Regions from separate parts of the Homo sapiens genome. Here all the other regions are linked to region 1. The links are contacts of gene promoters, found by promoter capture Hi-C in blood cells and fetal thymus (Javierre and others, 2016). All regions are on one chromosome and are shown on one strand. The core of a region is centred on a gene start or on the middle of the fragment in contact, and the rest is flanking DNA. Distances in the headings are between cores, read along the strand shown. Region 1 holds the start of C16orf78 (chromosome 16 open reading frame 78). Region 2 overlaps LOC105371240 (a long non-coding RNA gene). Region 3 overlaps LOC105371240 (a long non-coding RNA gene).

Region 1 (2,753 bases), core at 34-2,533:
GCAAAAAAGGGAAGCCTGACCATGCCACTCCCTCCCCTTTTTTTGAATTCCTTTATTGTTTTCCTTTGCTCCCTTTCCCTTCCCAGTCTGAGCAGAACCTGTGGCTACCAAGTTCCTGGATGGCCTGGCCTCTGGCCACCTCTGTACCATTGCCTCTTTGCCTCTGGTACTCTAGTCACCCTTGCCTTCTGTTGTTAGTGCCATGCCTCCCGCTTGTCACAGGGCCTTTGCACAGGCATATTTCTCTGGTCCAAAGCCCTTATCTTAATCCATTTGGGCCTATGACAAAATACCACAAAGTGGGTAGCTTATAAACAACAAACATTCATTTATCACATTTTTGAAGCCTAGGAAATCCAAAATTAAGGCTCTGACAGATTCCGTTGTCTGCTGAACCCATTTCCTGGTGACACCTTCTCACTACATCTTCACATGGTGGAGCTCTCTCTAGTCTCTTCTGCAAGGGCACCAATTCCAATCATGAGAGAACTGCTCTCATGACCTAATTACCTCCCAAGACCCCACCTTTTAATGCCATCACCTTGGGGGTTAGGATTTCAGCACATGAATTTTGGAGGGACAGAAATGTCCAGACCATAACAGCCCTGTTGAAGTCTATTTATCCTTTAGCTCAGAGCTCAAAGGTGGCCTACCCACCACCCCATCCAAGTCTAGTACCATTGATATGGCCTTTCATAGAACTACATTCCTTTCTTTGAAAGCACTCATCTTCACTTGTCATTATGAATTCATACGGTAATTATCTGCCCTGTCTTTTCCACTAGCCCATATGTCTTAGGAGGTTTGCCTATGTTTTTTTCCTGCATTGTATCCCCAGCACCATTCCCAATACTTAGTAGGTGCCTGATAACCACATGTTGGATGAATAAATGAATATAGACGAATTGGGCTTATAAAAAGCTTTCTTCTAATTAGAGTACACTACAGAAAGATAGGATGCCAAACTAAAGAATTCAGATTTCTTTTAGATAGGCAACAAGGAGCCATTGAAGGTTTTTGAGAAAGGAAGATGCGTGGACAGACCTTTATTTTATTAAGATCTCTGTGGAGGTAGAGGTGGAGAGGCTGCAAGGAGGCTGTGGCAGAGTCCAGAGGAGACATAGCGCCTGAAGAGGGGTAGTGGCCACATGGAGAACAGTGGGAGGTGGCCAATGTCCCACCTCCACTCTGACCTCAGGGCCAGCTACCAAGACGGGCAATGACTTCACAATCACTGCCCAGGCCTTCCACCTTTTAAGGCCAATATCCCAGGGTCTTGGCTCACTCTGCCCTTTATGTTCACATCTGGAGGCCACACCCTACCTTCTAAGTCACCAGGCCATCAAGTCCAGACAAAGGGATCGAAAGAGTGAGACAGTGCCAGCCACCTCCCACCCAAGCCACTAGCAAGACTCCACAATGTCAGAGCAACAAATGGACCTGAAGGATTTAATGCCCACAAAGAGGAAATACATGTGGAAGACTGCTGAAGATAGGCGCATGTCTGACCTCACCTGTGTGCTGGAGTGGCTGGAGCGGAGGCAGGGGAAGAAGAAACAAGCTCCCGAGGTGGGTACCATCCAAGAGAAATGGCAGGAAGACTTTACTCAAGGTAGTTGCAGTAGGGGAGAGAGATTGAACTTAACTCTCCTGAAACAAAAGGCGGGATGGTTTTGAAGTGCTGGGATAAGCTAGTGAGAACTACCCAAGGACATTAAGGGGGTGGGGGAATTAGTTAATATGATTAGGCTGTCTGTGTTGCTAATTCGCACTTATAAATGTTAGGCTCCCATCCTCTCACAGAGACTGAGAGACAAGGTACAATCTTTCTTGATGATTACATTTCAAAGGGTCCTCCCAGGTCCTTGAGAAAAACATTCCTGGATTGTAAAACTAGCAAGAGACTGAGAGATTTACATCTCAAAGGGGCAGAGAAAAAATTTACAAATCCAAGTTTTCTAGAGGAAATGCTCTAAGGAAAAGGAGGCCAAGGGCCTATCATCAGGAAGAAACCTGTCTAAAGTTTAGTCAAGCTGGGCAAATGTTAGTATTGGTCAGAATTCTAGAAGGGCCAAGGGGCAGTGGCTTCTGGGTCTCCATATTGCAGGATGGGATCCTCCTACTGCCCTCAGCTCTTCTCTCCTTGTGATGCCTTCAGAATCAAAGAACATTCATTCCTCACTGCCATTACTGCAACTGCAACTCCAGCTAACATACCTCCTCTTTTCTACCCTACATCGAGCTAGTTCTAACCCACCCTTTCCTCTTTCTCCAAGAAATGTAGCAACCAAGTTTGCCTTAGTTTTTCCCAGAGCTCCCCCAAGACCTATCATCTATGAAGAACCAAGCCATGTCTTTGGAAAGTGGTGTCCTCTGCAGAAGATGCCACCTGGTCTTGAATCTCCTGACCCTAGAGCAAAATGAGTAAAAAATGCCATTACTAATAACAATGCTCAACACATCACTAACTTTTAATGTTTACTGTGGTCAAGGCCCTGTGCTTAGATTTGTACCTGGGTTATGTGGTCAATTGCTCCCAGTCAGGCTACCAGGGAGGCACCATTTTTACCCCTAGTTGAAGGATAAGGAAAGTGAAAATAAGTCATTTTATTGAAGTCACAGAAGTAATAAAGGGCAGAGCCAGGGCTCAAACTGAGGTTTTCCAATTCCCAAATGCATAGACTCCTCTGCTTTATCCAGGTCAGCACCTGCCTTTGGGGAAAGCTTCCATTATGTTTGTGTGCTTACTTACT
Region 2 (2,700 bases), core at 94-2,593, 670 kb before region 1:
TTTAAACCGCCTTGAGTTAATTTTTGTATATGGTGAATGGTAGGGGTCCAGTTTCATTCTTCTGCATATAGCTAGCCAGCTATGTCAGCACTATTTATTGAGTAGAGAGTCCTTTCCCCATTGATAATTTTTGTCAACTTTGTCAAAGATCAAATGGCTGTAGATGTGTGGCTTTATTTCTGAGTTCTCTATTCTGTTCCATTGGTTTATATGTCTGTTTTTGTACCAGTACCATGCTGTTTTGGTTACTGTAGCCTTATAGTATACTTTGAAGTTGAGTTACACGATGTCTCTGGATTTATTTAGGATTTTGCTTTGGCTATTCAGGCTGTTTTTTGGTTCCATATGAGTTTTAGAATAGTTGTTTCCAATTCTCTGAAAAATGACATTGGTAGTTTGATAGGAATAGCATTGAATCTGTAGATTGTTTTGGGCAGTATGGACATTTTCGTGATATTGATTCTTCCAATCCATGAGCATGGAATGTTTTTCCATTTGTTTGTGTCATCTCTGATTTCTTTTAGCAGTGTTTCTTAGTTCTCCTCAGAGAGCTCTTCCGCCTCCTTGTTAGATACAGTCCTAGGTATTTTTTTAGTGCGTGTGTCTATTGTAAATGGTATTATGTTCTTTATTTGACTCCCAGCTTTAATGTTATTGGTGTATAGAAATGCTACTAATGTTTGTACGTTGATTTTGTACCCCAAAACTTTACTGAAGTCTTTTATCAGTTCCAGGATTTTTTTGCAGAGTCTTTAGGGTTTTCTGGATATAGAATCATATAATCAGTGAAGAGAGATAGTTTGACTTCTTTTCTGATTTGAATGCCTTTTGTTTCTTTCTTTTGCCTTATTGGTCTGGCTAGAACTTCCTGAAAGGTACTTTAAATATTGCTCTCTATCACTTTACAAGTAACATTTCTGTTTTTTTCAGATTGTTACAAAAGGAATCTTTCTTCTTTCTTTCTTTCTTTTTCTTTCTCTCTCTCCCTCCCTTCCTCCCTCCCTCCCCCTTCTTTCTCTCTCTCTTTCTTCCCTTCCTTCCTTCCTTCCTTCCTTCCTTCCTTCCTTCCTTCCTTCCTTCCTTCCTTTCTTTCTTTCTTTCTTTCTTTCTTTCTTTCTTTCTTTCTTTCTTTCTTTCTTTCTTTCTTTTTTCTTTCCCTTCTTTCCTCCCTCCACCTTCTTTCCTTGCTTCCTTCCTTCCTTCTTTCCTCCCTCCCTCCCTTCCTTCCTTCCTCCCTTCCTTTTGAGACAAGGTCTCACTCTTTCACCCAGGCTGGATTGCATTGGCATGATCATAGCTCATTGCAGCCTCGAACTCCTGTGCTCAAGTAATCCTCCTGCCTTGGCATCCCAAAGTACTGGGATTACAGGCATGAAGGAATGTGTTTTCTTTATGGCAAAATTGGAAAATCTAGAAAAGCACAAAAAGTAAAATAAAAACCACCTCTATCCTGTCACCTAGAGATAACCACATGTAGCAAGCATGTAATTCCAGCACTGTTTTTATGGGATCATTAATAGCTATATTTATTTAGTGTTAGCTATGTGTTTTATTAACATATGTGTTTCCTATTTTGGTCTCATTTATTCTCATGACTGTGAAGTAGGCATCTTTTTTTTCATTTTACAGATAAACAGGCTCAGAGAAATGTGACTTGCTTAAGGTCACTGTTCATTCTGTTGTATAAAATACTTTTTCCTTTTAATAATATTAGGTTTTCCTCCACAATTCAACATATTTCTACAACATTATTAAGGTTTTTAAAAGTTTAATTTTGTAAGTAGGTTATAATAGGTTCATGAGGTTAAAAATATATGAACAGGTTGGTGGGAATGTAAATTAGTTCAACCATTGTGGAAGACAGTGTGGCGATTCCTCAAAGACCTAGAACCAGAAATACCATTTGACACAGCAATCCCATTACTGGGTATATACCCAAAGGAATATAAATCATTTTATTATAAAGATACATGCACATGTATGTTCACTGCAGTACTATTCACAATAGCAAAGACATGGAATAAACCCAAATGCCCATCAATGATAGACTGGATAAAGAAAATGTGGTACATACACACTGTGGAATACTATGTGGCTGTAGAAAGGAAGAAGATCATGTCCTTTGCAGGGACATGGATGGAGCTTGAAGCCATTATCGTCAGCAAACTAATTCAGGAACAGAAAACCAAACACCACATGTTCTCACTTATAAGTGGGAGCTGAACGACAAGAACACATGGACACAGGGAGGGGAACAACACACCCTGGGGCTTGTTGGAGGGTGTCGGGGGAGGGAGAGCATCAGGATAAATAGCTAATGCATGTGGTGCTTAATACTTAGGTGATGGGTTGGTAGGTGCAGCAAACCACCATGACACACGTTTACCTATGTAACAGACCTGCACGTCCTGCACATGTATCCCAGAACTTAAAATAAAATTATATATATATGGGTTTATAGTAAAGAGTTTCCTTTCACTTTTGTGCCCCATCTAACAAGTTCTCCTACCAATAACTTGTTCTTTTGTTCTTTCTTGAGTCTGTTTTCAGAATCTCATGATTATATAAAGAAATAAACATATGTGTTTTTATTTTTCTGCAAAATATTACATGCTATAAACACTGCTCCTCACCTTGTTTTTTCACTTAACAAAGTATCTGGGAGAATTTTCTATATGAAATATATGGAGAATTTTCTCA
Region 3 (2,700 bases), core at 108-2,607, 700 kb before region 1:
ATCTTTCATAGCTAGAAAGGAGAAGTCAATGCCTGGCTTCAAAGCTTCAAAGGACAGGCTGAATCTCTTATTAGGGGCAAGTGCAGCTGATGACTTTAAGTTGAAGCCAGTGCTCATTTACCATTCCCCAAATCCTAGGGCCCTTAAGAAACATTTTAAATCACTTCTGCTTATGCTCTATAAATGGAACAACATAGCCTGGATGGCAGCACATCTCTTTATAGCATGGTTTACTGAATATTTTAAACCCATTTTTGAGACCTACTGCTTAGAAAAAAGTCTTTTCAAATTTTATTGCTCACTACAAATAATAACAATAAATAAAAAATAAAAAGGCTGGGTGCAGTGGCTCATACCTGTAATCCCAGCACTTTGGGAGGCCAAGGTGGAAGGATGACTTGAGTCCAGGAATTCAAGACCAGCTTGGGCAACGTAGGGAGACCCTGTTTCTACAAAATAATAATAAAAAAATTTACTGCTTATTGACCAATGCACCTGGTCACCCAAGAGCTCTGATGGAGGTGCACAAGGAGATTAACGTAGTTTTCATACCTGATAACACAGTTCTGCAACTGACAAATCAAGGGGTAATTTTGGCTTTAAAGGCTATAGCTGCCATAGACAATGATTCCTCTGTTGGATCTGGGCAAAATGAATTGAAAGTCTTCCGGAAAAGATTCACCATTCTAGATGTCATTAAGAACACTTGTGATTCACAACATTAACAGGAGTTTGGAGGAAGTTGATTTCAACCGACATGGATGACTTTGAAGGGCTTAAGATTTCAGTGAAAGAAGTCACTCCAGATGTGCTATAAATAGCAAGATAATTAGAATTAGAAGTGAAGCCTGAAGATGTAATTGAACTGTTGCAATCTCATAAAACTTGAATGGGTAAGAAGTTGCTTCTTATGGATGAACAAAGAAACTGGTTTCTTGAAATGGAAACTACTTGTAATAATGCTGTGAAAATTGTTGAAATGACAACAGTGTTTAGAATATTACATACATTTAGTTGATAAAGCCATGACAGGATTTGACAGGATTGGATATGATTTTTTTTTTTTTTGAGACAGTGTCTTGCTCTGTCACCAGGCTGAAGTGCAGTGGCGTGATCTCGGCTCACTGCAACCTCTGCCTCCCAGGTTCAAGCGATTCTCCTGCCTCAGCCTCCCGAGTAGCTGGGACTACAGGTGGGTGCCACCACGCCCAGCTAATTTTTGTATTTTTAGTAGAGACGGGGTTTCACCATGTTGGCTAGGATGGTCTTGATCTCTTGACCTCGTGATCTGCCTGCCTCGGCCTCCCAAAATGCTAGGATTACAGGCGTAAGCCACTGCACCTGGCCAACTGAATACAATATTTAAAGAAGTTCTACTGTGGGTAAAATACTACCAAACAACAGCACATGGTACAGAGAAATATTTCAGGAAAGAAAGAGTCAATCAATGAGGCAAACTTCACTGTTGTCTTATTTTTAGGAACTACTACAGCCACCCCAACCTTGAGCAACCATCACTCTGATCAATCAGCAGCCATCAACATTGAGACAAGACTCTCCACCAGCAAAAAGATTATGACTTGTCCGGGTGCGGTGGCTCACACCTGTAATCCCAGCACTTTGGGAGGCTGAGGCAGACAGATCATCTGAGGTCAGGAGTTCGAGACCAGCCTGACCAACATTGTGAAACCTGTCTCTACTAAAAATACAAAAAATTAGCCGGGCATGGTGGTAGGCACCTATAATCTCAGCTATTTGTAAGGCTGAAGCAGGAGAATTGCTTGAACCTGGGAGGTGGAGGTTGCAGTGAGCCGAGATCACATCATTGCACTCCAGCCTGGGCAACAAGAGCAAAACTCCGTCTAAAAAAAATATATATATATATATGACTCACTGAAGGCCCACATGATCATTCGCAATTTTTAGCCATAACGTATTTTTAAAATTAAAGTATATACATTGATGTTTTAGACATAATGGCATTGTACTCTTATTAGACTACAGCATAGGGTAAACATAACTCCTCTATGCACTGGGAAATAAAAAAATCTGTGACTCACTTTATTGCGACATTTGCTTTAGTGCGCCAGTTGGAACCAAGTCTGCAATCTCCCAGAGTATGCCTGTGTATAGTAATAATAATCACATACATGCCCTGAGGTGGTTGCAGGATAATGGGGCAGATTTCATGGTGGGCTTCCAGAATTCATTTTATGTTTGTGGTTTGCTTCACATGACTACACTTATGAATGGAATCTCCATGAGACAAGGGTCTTTGTTTCACTCCCTGCTGTGTCTGAACTCTTAGAATGGTGCTCAGCACACACAAAGGGTGACTTGGTGGCTGAGTGCATCTTCCCTAGTTCATTTGTGTGTATATATATATGATAGTAGTTATATGGTGACATGGGAAAGAACATTGGGCAAGGAAGTAGAACTGGATTTGAGCTCCGCCCTGATTTACCTTACTATTTGGGTGAACTTGGCCAGTTACTTTAATCCTTATGAGCCCCAATTACCTCATCTGTGGAATGGAGCAGTTACTGTGCTCCCTCTCTGGGGTCTTATAAGAATTTAATGCCAATGGGCTGTGAGAGAGCTATGTAAACTCTGAAGCGCATTATTTGATTAAAAGCTCTGGCTCATATGGCTGCCTTAGTTGTAAGAAATAGAAGCTTGCAAAGAAACAGCAGTGAGGTC

What was found. Contacts are between HindIII fragments. The CHiCAGO score rates a contact against its expected background, and 5 or more counts as called.
Region 2: a fragment that was not itself captured here is called in contact with the fragment with the promoter of C16orf78 in region 1 in 2 of 17 cell types (endothelial precursors and erythroblasts); the score reaches 8.1 in endothelial precursors.
Region 3: a contact is called between a fragment that was not itself captured here and the fragment with the promoter of C16orf78 in region 1, in 1 of 17 cell types (endothelial precursors). The highest score is 6.6, in endothelial precursors.

What each region holds. Positions count from the first base shown.
Region 1 is chr16:49,372,521-49,375,273 of GRCh38, forward strand. It overlaps C16orf78 (chromosome 16 open reading frame 78), which reads left to right and starts at 1,284. Exons shown (of 5, transcript NM_144602.4): 1 at 1,284-1,569. The coding sequence starts at 1,420. LOC105371244 (a long non-coding RNA gene) reads right to left here. Exons shown (of 8, transcript XR_001752167.2): 8 at 1-2,410. RefSeq lists enhancers at 737-1,467, 1,468-2,198. The HindIII fragment of the contact is 1,803 bases long and covers 920-2,722 here.
Region 2 is chr16:48,701,703-48,704,402 of GRCh38, forward strand. The region is part of intron 1 of LOC105371240 (a long non-coding RNA gene); the gene reads left to right. Among named protein-coding and RNA genes, the nearest start is that of N4BP1, 93 kb to the left of the region's middle. The HindIII fragment of the contact is 6,331 bases long and covers 1-2,700 here.
Region 3 is chr16:48,674,914-48,677,613 of GRCh38, forward strand. The region is part of intron 1 of LOC105371240 (a long non-coding RNA gene); the gene reads left to right. Among named protein-coding and RNA genes, the nearest start is that of N4BP1, 66 kb to the left of the region's middle. The HindIII fragment of the contact is 2,631 bases long and covers 43-2,673 here.